Regions from separate parts of the Homo sapiens genome. Here all the other regions are linked to region 1. The links are contacts of gene promoters, found by promoter capture Hi-C in blood cells and fetal thymus (Javierre and others, 2016). All regions are on one chromosome and are shown on one strand. Each heading gives the region's core, a stretch centred on a gene start or on the middle of the fragment in contact. The rest is flanking DNA. Distances are from core to core; before and after follow the strand shown.

Region 1 (3,680 bases), core at 404-2,903:
TGAGACCACACAGAGAGAGAGCGGGATCGTGGGCCCAGGCTCCTGACCGTGCTGGATAAGGTGTGCAGGCAGCCACGCCAGGCCCAGGCAAGAAGGAGCAAGCCTGGAGCATGTACTGAACAGGGGTCTGTGAGTCACAAAATGTGACGCAGCAGAGGGTATGTGGGGGAGGGCAGGGAAATGCACACTTGGATTGGGTCCCCAAAGCCTCCCTCTCCAGCAATGACTCAGTGTCTCTGGGTGAAGGAGCAACCTTCTCTGGGAGGCAGGGCAGGAAACCCCAAGAGCCCAGGGGGAGGGCACCCCACCTTCCTGCTCCAGCCCCACACAGCGGCTGAGAGCCCCAGGCACAGAAGGGGTAGGGAATGTTGCCACCACCCCCACCACGGACCCCGCTGCAGCTTCCAGGTGATGCCACAGGCCCTGAAATCAGGACACCCTTGCTGTACATGGGGGTCATCTTGAGGTTCTCTGCCAAGGATACTGACCTCTATGCCTGCCCCCAATTCTGCAGCTCAGGCACCTGGCTTCACCGCCAGGCCTTACCATGTGGAGAACAGGGGGCCGGGGTGGGGGGTCTGGGAGCCAAGGAAGGAGTGAAGCCCTCCAGACACCAACATCGCAGTCCTCGCCCCCTCCCTACAGACCCCATCCAGCCCAACTCCCCATGTGCAGCTAAAGCCACGCGCCCTCCTACCATACAAGGTGCAGGCAGCCCTCCCGCCTTCTTCAAAGAGGCATCTGCTCCGGCTCACTCCACCCTCCTCCCCCAGTGGCCTAACTAGTCGCCGGGTTCCAACCCTATCCCTTCTCCAGAGGTCATCTGGCCCCACCCAGCAGCCCAAACCAGTAGACCGGCCCTGCCCCATCACTTTGGTTTCTCCAGCATCCAAAGAACGTGGAGGGTCACCCCCCCAAAACAGCTGTCAAGGTCCAACAATTAAGCCATCTGTTGCCGCTCCCTGGGACTGGGAGAGGTGAGGTCGAGTTTCTTGGCGAGTTTCCTGCGTGCAGCCCCCACACCACAAAAGCCCCCGGTGCGAGCCGGAGCCCAGCGCGAGACGGCTGGAAGGGCGCGGGGAGGGAGCCGCTGCGGGGTGCAGGCGGGGAGAGGGGCGGCGGCTCGAGGCGCGGCCGGCGGGCGGAGGGTACGGAGGCGCCGGGAGAGCGTTCTCGGGGCGCGCTGCCAGGGTGCAGGAAGCCGGAGCGCGCGGGAGGGAGCGGGGAGCGGGATGCCGATTTCGGCTGGGGGCGGGGAGGCCCCTGATTGGGGCGCGGGAGGCGTGATGTCACGTCCGGCGGGGGAAGCCCTGCCTCGCGCACCCTCCGCCCCCGTCCCCGCCCCCACAGGTGGTGCCACCGCCCTGGGCGCTGGGCGTGGGGGGCCGCCCTCGGGGACCCCGGCCGCGGCCCCGCGCTGCCCGGCTCCGCCGCCTCCCGCCGGGGATCGATAGAGTCGCGCGGCCAGGCGGGCCCTCTGGGTCCCTAAGAGCCAGAGGAGCGCCCAGTGCGCCCCGGCCCGCGCCCCCGCGCCGCGCCCCGCCCCGCCCCGCCCGGTGCTCCCAGTCCCTCCCCCACCCCTGCGCTCCCACCCTGCCCCGCCCCTCTCCTCTCCCGCGGCCGCCTAGGGGCCGGGCCGGCGGCGGGGGAGGCGCCGAGCCGGGACTGCGCTAGCCCGCCGCGCTCTGGGCTGCCCGAGCGAGCGTTCGGACCTCGCACCCCGCGCGCCCCGCGCCGCCGCCGCCGCCGGCTTTTGTTGTCTCCGCCTCCTCGGCCGCCGCCGCCTCTGGACCGCGAGCCGCGCGCGCCGGGACCTTGGCTCTGCCCTTCGCGGGCGGGAACTGCGCAGGACCCGGCCAGGATCCGAGAGAGGCGCGGGCGGGTGGCCGGGGGCGCCGCCGGCCCCGCCATGGAGCTCCGGGCCCGAGGCTGGTGGCTGCTATGTGCGGCCGCAGCGCTGGTCGCCTGCGCCCGCGGGGACCCGGCCAGCAAGAGCCGGAGCTGCGGCGAGGTCCGCCAGATCTACGGAGCCAAGGGCTTCAGCCTGAGCGACGTGCCCCAGGCGGAGATCTCGGGTGAGTGAGGGCGCGGCGCCGGGAACCCGGGCCTGGCCGGGCTTTGGGCTCCGGACCCTGGTCTTCCCGACGCGGCTACTCGCCCCCGGCGCGGGATCCTGCCGCCTGCGCCCCGCCGCCCGGGCCCCGAATGGCTCCCTGCGCTGCGGCTCCTCTGCAACCCCACGGCCCTCGCCTCCAAGCCCCGCGCCGCACTCCCTCGCCAGGGTCTCCTCCGCCCCGCTCGGTCGTCCTCCGCCCCTCCCCGCCCCCCGCACGCCGGCTTCTTCCCTGCGGAGCTGATCTCGCCGGGCTGCGGGCTCGGGGCGCTCCTCCCGGGCCACGGCTGGAGCTGGGCGTCTTCTGCCCGCCGCTCGGCCCAGCGCGCCTGCAGGCCGGGAGTCCCAGCCCCGGGGCCGGCTGTCGGGGCGCTGTGGGGCTCGGCGTGGCCGGGCTTTCGGGGCGCCGCTGACGGTGGCCGCGGACCCCTTCTGCTCTGTACAGACCTCTCTGGGAGGCGTCTCCGGTCCTGCCCGGGGATTCTCGTAGGGTCTCCAGCAAAGGCAGCCTAGGTGGGTTTTATAAGCTGACCCCCTCGGGGGGTAGTGCGGAGGGGTGGGGAGGGAGCTGGGCACTTATCCGCGGGCGGAACGCCGCCGCCTCGTAGAGATTCCTGTCGAAGAACTTGTACGCGCCGGCCCCCGCCTGGCGCTTGGGCAGCCTCGTGCCGCGAGTCCAGCTGCAGGTGGTCGGCGCGTTGGATCCCGCCCAGGGGCCGTGTCATTTCTTTGTAAGAACAGCGGCCCTCTTGGCGCCCCCTAAGCCCTGCAGCCGCCTGCGGCTCTGCCTCTTCCCTCCCTGTGGTCCCGGAGGAGCTTTGGGGACAGAAGTGTACGGGTGGGTGGAACGGTGGGCTCCGTGTGCTAAGGAACTCTTGGAACCCAAGCTTCACCTTTCCACGTGTGGGAACCAACCTCGGTCTGTACCGCGTGCCAGGGACCCAGTGGGCAAGAACAAAACAGACTAGGTTCCTGCTCTGGGGGGCTCCTCTGAAACCAGGGGAGTGGGAGTGCGGGTGGAGGGCTACTCAGATGGGGACTCAGCGCAGAAATGCCCATGGTCCTGGGGATTCTGAGCAAGAAGGATCCGTGCATCTGGGTGAGGGGGGTCTGTGGCCATGCCTTGCCGCGGGGGGCGGAGTGGTGGGAGGAGGCAGTCGGGCTCTGGACCCCTGCCCCTCCAGGAGGAACAGAACCCACAGACAGCCCCTTGCCCTTGGTGGATCTCCCGATGCCCCCAGCCTGAGGTTCTTGTAAGGGCCCCCTGACCGCCCCCCACAGAAGGAACAGAACCCGCAGACAGTCCCTTGGCGGATCTCCCGATGCCCTCCCCACCAGCCTGAGGTTCTTGCAAGGACCCCTCCAAAGTCCCCAGGACAGGCCTTCCTGTGCCTCTGCAGAGGCAACCCTGTCATTTCCAGGCTGCCCCCCTCACCCCACTGGGCTCTGTCTGTCCCAGGTAGGGGGCACACCTGGATGCCAGGCAGCACAAGGCCCTCGGCACAGTTGGGTTCGTTCTCTGCCCCTCTACTCACACATAAAGAGGCATCCCTGGCCTTCCTGGTGA
Region 2 (3,585 bases), core at 382-2,881, 180 kb before region 1:
GGGAGTAGGCCTTGCCCCAGGGAGTTCTGGCTGGGGGCTCCTGTGGGACAGCTCTGGGGACCCCAACACCTGCCCTGGGGACCTCCCCTTCCCACCTCCTGAGACACTGCTGGGTCCCTCTGTCAATCACATTTCTAGCTCTCCCGCCTCTACCAGGCAGGCCAATCAGATGGTGCCACCTCCTCACCCGCCCCACCTTACAGTCATCCCTGCAAGGGTGGGATTGACAAGGGGGAAATCGGCCCAGCTTGGGGTGGAGGAGACGTTGATGAGGATCCTGGGAGACAAGGCCACCTCTTCCCAGCCATGGAGACTCCTGGGATGGACCCTCCCTCCCTTGACCCCCATAAAGGAGAGTCTTTGGGAAGGGAGAAGGAGGGCTGAAGAGGGAGGAGGGTTCCCACAAGAGTACAGCCCAAGCACTGCCGCGGCAGTGGAAGGCCCCAGCCCAGCCACACGGAGTCTCGAGGCTGAGGACAGAGAAGGCACCTGGGTGCAAGGAGGCCCTTGGGTGTAGTTTGCAGTAGGACCAGTGGGCACAAGCGCCCAGGATGAGAGCCACAGGCTGACGGAGCCCCATGTGAAGGGGTAGAGGTCAGGGCAGAGGGGGACCCTAGGGAAGGCTCAGGACCCGTGCCTGGAGAGGAAGACCCCACGGCACCCACTTTCTGGTTCCTGAAGCCTTCCTGGCCACCACACTGTCCCGTTCCTGACCTGCCCAGGGTGGGCACCAGGGCTGGGGCTGGCCACAGGGACCCCTAGGGTCAGACAGCAAGTCCCAGCTGGTGCCACTCTGGCCCCCACCAACTGCGTGGACAGCCCTCACCCCCGCTCAGCCTCCCTGAGAAGAAAGGGTGGGCACAAACCCTCCGCCCCCACCCATAAAGGGCATGAGGAGAGGGCCCGGTACCCCTGAGCCCAAGCAGCCGGCGGAGAAGGGGCTGCAGAGGCCTGGCTGCCAGTCCCTGGAGATGACCCAAGGTGCGTATGACCAGCAGGGCTGTGACCCCTAGCCCAGCCTGGGCTGACCACACGCCTGCAGGAGGCCACGCCTCTGGGTAGTGATGAGAAACCGCAGCCTCAGAGTAGGTGGGTGTGGCCTGAGAGCATGACTCACGCTGGGCTGCCCGGGGTCAGTCACGGGCTGGGTGAGACCTTTGTGTGCTGAGCCTGGGGCTCCCCACACTCGAGTGGTCCCCCGTGGCCTCACAGAGCAGCCTCAGAGGCCAGCCTGCCACCCCCTCATCCCACACAGAAGGAGGCTGAGTCCTCAGCGGGGGAGGGGCTGGTCATCCCATGGCCACGGATCCCGGAATAGCCGACCTCCAGCCCCCGCGCACGGGTACATTCTGTACGCCCAGGGTGGCTGGCGTGGGTGGCGGCTGGCCCTGAAGGCCGGGGGCTGTGTTCCTGTGGCCGACTCACTGCCCTTTGCCCTTGGTGAGCAAGTCTTCCCTGGGCCTGGCTGCTTCTCTGTAAGACGGAGGCCCAGCAGGGTGGGAGGGGACATCATGACCCCGCAGCACTGAGAGTACTTTGTAAGCTGGGAAGTACCGTGGCTCCGCCAGGGCCATGGTGACATCAGCCATTCACTACTGGCTGGGACTGGCAGATGTCCAGGGACCAGGCGAGGAGGGAGAAGGAGTCTCCCTGCACCTTCCCGCCCCAGCTCTCCCTCCCTCCCGCTCCCACTGCCTCCCCATCTGGGAGCAAGCCCTGGTTTAGAGATTGGGGTTTGTGCTGGGCAGACAGAATCAGCAGTGGCTCTCTCCCCCGCTCCTCCCCCAGGGGTGCTGGGCTGGCCCTTGGGGTTGAGGGTGACCCAGAACTTGCCATTGGCTGCCGGGTGACAGCCCCATCCATCTAGCTCACCCTGGAGCTGGGTTTGGGCACTGTAACATGTTGCAGGAGACCTGTCGGAGTTCAGTGCCATCCACTCCATTAGTCATAATTATTTTAATTAAGAAGATAAGAAACACAACTCATCAAAGGTTTAATTATAATTAGCAGCTAACGACACTCGGATGAATCACTGGCCCGAGCAGGTGCTCATTCACACTTCCCAGTTCACTGGATGCGCCGTGGGAGCCGCTGAGACGTGGGCACAGAAGGCACATCTCCCTGGGACCCGAGAAGGCAACAGAGCCCCCGCATCCCCCCAGCACGATGCAGAAGGGCTGGGCCCATAGCAGCTACCTGTGTGGTCACTCAGCCCTGAGCTCAGAAGTGCCGGGGCTCAGAGGACACCCTGCTGTTGCCACCGGGCACCCTTCACCATCTCTGAACAAGGCCTGGGATTTCTCTGTGACCTAGGCCCCCACAGGGTACAGTGGTCCTGACCCTACATCCATGTACAGGGAATGCTGACCGCGGCAGCTCCGTGTTCACAGCCCTGGACACACAGAAATGACTGTGATGTGGCCCTGACCTCAGTAGTGTAGAAGGAACCCACTGAAGGAGACCGAGGTGGGGAACCTACAGGGCCTAATGGAAACCCCAGCTGGGTGGGTGGCGGCCATGCAGCTGGGAGTGAGTGTGAGGGTGCCTGGGGATGGAGACGGTGCCGGGGATGGAGACAGACACGGTCTCCATGAGAAAGCTGGGCTTAATCCTGACAGAGGGAGGCGGCCTGGAGGCCATACAGGGAAGAGGGGCTCAGGAGGTTTGGAAACAGGATTTCAGGACTGCCTGCGCTGCAGGTGGGTGCTGGCCACTGGTCTAGCCTGATCTGGCACCCTGGTGGTGCATGCCATTGGAGGGGCTCCCTGTATCTGTACTGTGGGGCCTTCCTGTCACAGGGTGGGCTCACAGGTCCTGCCCATCCCTGCATGGGATGTGGGTGAGCTTTGCTCTGAGGAGGCCGACGTGAGCCTCCTGATCAGCCGGACACAAAGTGGGCAGAGGGGCACCGAGCCCCCGGAGGCTCTGGGAGTGGGAAACCACCGATCTGTATGAGCTCAGGTGCCTCCTGGGACAGCCTGGAGGACAGTGGCTGTGAGGGGCTGTCACTGCAGCTCATGGTAGGCAGCCCACCTTCCCATTCAGAAAGGCTTTCCAGAAGGGGACGGCTGTGGATGAACAGGCAGCGTCCTCCTGTCCTGTTTCCATGCCTCTGACCACCCTCTACCTCTTCCCCTCGTCCCCTAAGCAGGCGTCCCTGTGAAGCGGCTACACAACCAGAGCGGGGCTCTAGGGGAGGGTCCTGGCACCTCTTCCAGCACCCAGTGGCTCCCGGTTTCCCTGGTTTGTGGCCTCTCTGCTCCCGTCTCTGCCTCTGTCTTCATGCGGCCTCCCTACTGTGTCTGTCTCTGTCTCATTCTCCTTTCTTTTATGAAAACACAGCCATTGGATTTAGGGTCCACCTTAAATCTAGATGATCACGCCTCCAGATCCTTAACTTAATTACATCTGCAGAAACCAAATAAGGTCACATTGTTAGGTACCAGAGATTAGGGTGTGGCTGTGCCATTTGCGGGGGATCACTCCATAACCCACCATGCAGCCCTAAGCTGTGTGACCGGCAGCAAGTCCCTGTCCTTCTTGGGGCCTCTGATCCCTCGCATGTGAGCATGAGCCCCCCTCAGA
Region 3 (3,815 bases), core at 1,292-3,791, 220 kb before region 1:
CTCAGTGGGCCGTAGGGTAGCCTGCTGTCTCCCCCGGACAGGTGCACCGGAGCTCAGGGTGGACAAGGCTGGCTTGGTCACCAGGCCCAGGGGAGACGGTCAGCACCCTCTTAGCCGCACAGGAGGGGGGTAGGGAGAACGCTCCAACCTTACTCCCAGTCAACTGGAATCACCTGGCATGATTTCAGCTCACAGATTTAAAAAAACTGCCTGTGAGAATATTGTCCCTGTGTGAGGGGAGGGTCTTGCTATTCCTGGACCCAGTGTGTCCAAGGGAGGGAGAGTTGGGCCTCTGTCCCCCTGGGGTCCCCAGCTGCTAGGCAGCTGCACCTGGGATCCTGCCCACCAGGGAGTAGGAGGCTGCTCCCAGCTCTGTCTCCAGATCTGGGTCTAGTGCTGTGTCCGAGCCCTCTGCTCCCATAAGCCAAGGCCTATGGGGACTGGCCTAGGGTGAAGGAGCCTTAGTCCTTGAAATACCAGACCTCATTTTGAAACATGTGAAGGAGCTGCAGCAGAGAGCACTGGCTTGCGTCCCGGGAGGCGGCTGTACGTGGCCAGCATGCCTCACAGGAGGTAATGGCTGGTGTCACTGGCGTGGCTTAATGACAGAAGTCTGAGGTTTTACAGGACAAAAGGAATTGGGGTTCGTGCATCCAGATGTTTCCCCAACACATGCAGGGACTGTCAAGACCAGGAAGGGGGGACACAGAGAGCAGCAAAGGGGTCACTGGGAGTGGTAAAGGGGCCACTGGGGGTGGTTCTTCAGCCAGGCCCAGCCCCTCCAAGCCCCCCCAGCCCCTCTGAGCCTCTCCGGGGGGATCCTGGGGGCTCCTCTCCAGGCCACTGGATTTCCCAGCACCTGGCCCCATGGAGCCCGGGGCATGGTAAACCCGCTACACAGACCTGCCTGCAGCAGGGGCACCTGGGCTGCCTGCTTCTGACCTTGATGTGATTTGTTTCGATCAGCTGGTTGTTCACCATGCTGAGTCTGACTGAGCAGTCGGGAGGGCACAGAATTCCGCTTGGATAGTGATCAAGACGTAGCACAGGGCGCTCACTGTGTAAAAATGAATGCACCCCTCACAGGCTGCTTGCTGTGTAGACAGGAATACACCGCTCACGTGGGCGTTCACCAGTGCTGTGAGAGAGCAGGCAAGCACAGGATCCCGGGCCAGGCCACACGACCAGCTCCTTGAACGAACAGCCACTTCCCAGTCTTTCAACAGATAAGAACCCAGACATGACCTCTGGGGTACTGACCAGGGTATCCCTCAGAGCGGCCTGGCGCGGGCCTGCCATGCACGGAGGTGCTGTCTGCCTCTCATTAGCATTCAGTGAGTCCAGCTCCTGCTCTCCTCATCAGCATTCCAGCCATGCTGGCCAGCTCGGCCTGAGAGCAGGAGCCTGCCTGGAGATGTCCCCTCTCACCCAGCCTGAAGGCACTGCCTGCCCTTGCCTCGGGACACAGCCGCAGCTGGCTCCCATCTGCAGGGATGCTGGTGACCACCTAAAAGGAAGAGGCTGAGGCATAAAATGTAGCTGAAAGATTGACTTGAGCTGAGGTGAGGGCAGCTGCCTGGAAGACTCGGACTGAAGCAGCTTGGATAGGAGCCCTATTCGGCCTTTATTACAGGCAGGTTTTTAAAGACGAAAAAGGGGGACAGAGAGTTGTTTGTTGGGAATTCCCATTGGCTTACGGAAACCACATTGGTGAGTGATTGGCTATCCACTGTTCAGCTACAGGGCATGAGTTACAGCGTCCAGTGTGGCATTACTAGGTTACTTTACAGCTGCTGCAGCGGTCACAAGCAGCTTCAAGAGGTGGACACACAGCTCAAAGCGGGAGAGGATGTGACTGCTGTCTCATCTTAACGTCTTTCTGGGACTGACAGTGTCAAAAGACTACATTCCTTGGATAAAAGCTTTTTTCCTTTTCTCACTAGGCAGAGAGAGGCTGGCTGACCCCTGGCTGTGGCCTCCTGACTAGATACAGATGCGGAGCCCATGGTGGATCTGAGCCGGGACGGGCCTGGAGCTTCAAGCACGTCCTTGGGGAGGAACTCCAGGGTGCCCCCGGATATGAGAGAGGGCACTGCAGGGTCCTCGGAGGCCATGCAGCCCAGATCTGGCCTCACAGTCCACCAGCTGACTCGGGCACCTTCACTGCCTGACAAGATGGCTCCCAGCTTGCTTGCCGCCTCTGGCCGGGTCTCCAAGCACCAAGCTGGGGAAGCCGGGTTGCTGCTGGACTGTGAGCTCGGACAGTTAACCTGAACACGTGTTTCACAGCTGTGGCCCAGGAAACCATGGCCTCTGTCTGGTCTGGTTTGCAGCCGCTTCGGGCCCTGGGTGTGGGCCGGGCGCCCAGTTCATGCACAGCTGTGCAGCAGGTGGAAGGCCTGGTGGGAGCGTCAGTGTCTGGTACCCTGGTTCCCCGCAGACTCTTTCCAACTCAGTGTGCCGCCTTCCTGCGGGTCAGGACCCATGACTCTTGGAGAAAAGACCAACCCTCCCCCGGCAAGGCCTGGCAATCAGGCAGGCCAGGTCTCCCTCTGGGCTCCCATCCCGCAGGCTCTGGCCCTGCCCCTGGTCACTGCACCAGCCCATCCTTCGGCCTAGTCCCCTTCCCTCCTCCTAAGGACCAGGGCCCAGAATCCTGCCCCAGACCCTAAGCAGCTGCTCCTTCCCTTCCAGGACCACCCCAGTCCCCCACCATTATGTAACCCCTGAGTGTCCAGACGGAGCCCTGGTGGTCGAGTGCAGGTTCCAGAGTGTGATGTGGGTGCATCATTGTCAGAACCCCCAGTTCCCCTGCCTGAAAAACCAGGTGACAGTGATGCCACTCATGGCTATCAGCAAAGTAGCATGTCACGGCCTTGAGCCATCCCTGCCAGCTTCGATGGGAACATGGTCAGGGAATGGAGCCTGGCTGGGGCCTCCCTGGCCCTCGAGGAGAGGTCTTGGTTCTGGTCCGGAGCCCTTTGCTGGGGCAGGGGCAGCCCCGGGGAGGCCTCAGGCTGGCCCCAGGCACCCACCAGAGGCCCTCAAGACTGCCCTGAGTGAGGGGTGCACGGTGAGCTGGTCTGACCTCGGCTCCTCTGGGGAGGGAACCACACAGCAAGACCCTGTGCTCATGAAGAACAATCGTGCAGAACAGAAAGGAAGCTTCACATCACCAGAGAGGGCCAGAGCTGTATCCTGGGCCCGCCACTGACCAGGTGAGTCTCAGAGCTATCAGCTCCTCCTCAGGGGTCTGCCTCCTGACCTGAGAGGGCTGGGGGCTGGAGTGGGCATCCCTAAGGCAGGTCCTCTTGGGGTCTTGGCTGGGATCGGTTGAGCACAGCTCAGCCAGGTGGCATCAGATTCCCGTCTTCCTCTTGTAGCCCTGCCAGCCGGATCCCCACGCCTGTGGGGGGTCAGTCTACTCCAGACCAGAGACACGACCCAAGAAAAAGGGTACATAGGAAGCAGACGGCACTTTCCTCTGAAATGCGCCAACAGATTTACTAGGCAGGACAGCCTCAGCAGACACCCACGCTCACCTGCTGGGCTGCACTGCAACTGCCAGCCTCAGAGAGCTGCATGGTCCCTGTGCACCCCCACTTCACAGAGATGAGCAACCTCTCCACAGTCAGACACTGCCCTGCAGGGAGGCAGAAGTGGAGGTGCACAGAACAAGGGGGTCTTGAGGGGAGGGGAACAGTGCAGGAACCTGGGGAGCAGGGGGAGGTGGGAGAGCCAGGAAGTGGGACAGCTGGGCGTGGAGGTGGATGCAGGGTGAGGGGTGGGTGGGGTGGGGTGGAAGGATGGGGGTG

What was found. Contacts are between HindIII fragments. The CHiCAGO score rates a contact against its expected background, and 5 or more counts as called.
Region 2: a contact is called between a fragment that was not itself captured here and the fragment with the promoter of GPC1 in region 1, in 1 of 17 cell types (endothelial precursors). The highest score is 6.2, in endothelial precursors.
Region 3: a contact is called between a fragment that was not itself captured here and the fragment with the promoter of GPC1 in region 1, in 1 of 17 cell types (endothelial precursors). The highest score is 6.0, in endothelial precursors.

Annotation. Positions count from the first base shown.
Region 1 is chr2:240,434,010-240,437,689 of GRCh38, forward strand. It overlaps GPC1 (glypican 1), which reads left to right and starts at 1,654. Exons shown (of 9, transcript NM_002081.3): 1 at 1,654-2,075. The coding sequence starts at 1,910. RefSeq lists enhancers at 23-317, 717-1,293, 3,027-3,603, 3,655-3,680 and silencers at 1,123-1,782, 1,843-1,902. The HindIII fragment of the contact is 5,949 bases long and covers 1-2,998 here.
Region 2 is chr2:240,250,168-240,253,752 of GRCh38, forward strand. It overlaps LOC105373968 (a long non-coding RNA gene), which reads right to left. Exons shown (of 2, transcript XR_924057.3): 2 at 1,942-3,585. Among named protein-coding and RNA genes, the nearest start is that of OTOS, 110 kb to the left of the region's middle. RefSeq lists enhancers at 1,079-1,592, 1,593-2,104. The HindIII fragment of the contact is 8,779 bases long and covers 1-3,585 here.
Region 3 is chr2:240,212,847-240,216,661 of GRCh38, forward strand. The region is part of intron 2 of LOC107985836 (a long non-coding RNA gene); the gene reads right to left. Among named protein-coding and RNA genes, the nearest start is that of OTOS, 74 kb to the left of the region's middle. The HindIII fragment of the contact is 1,243 bases long and covers 1,921-3,163 here.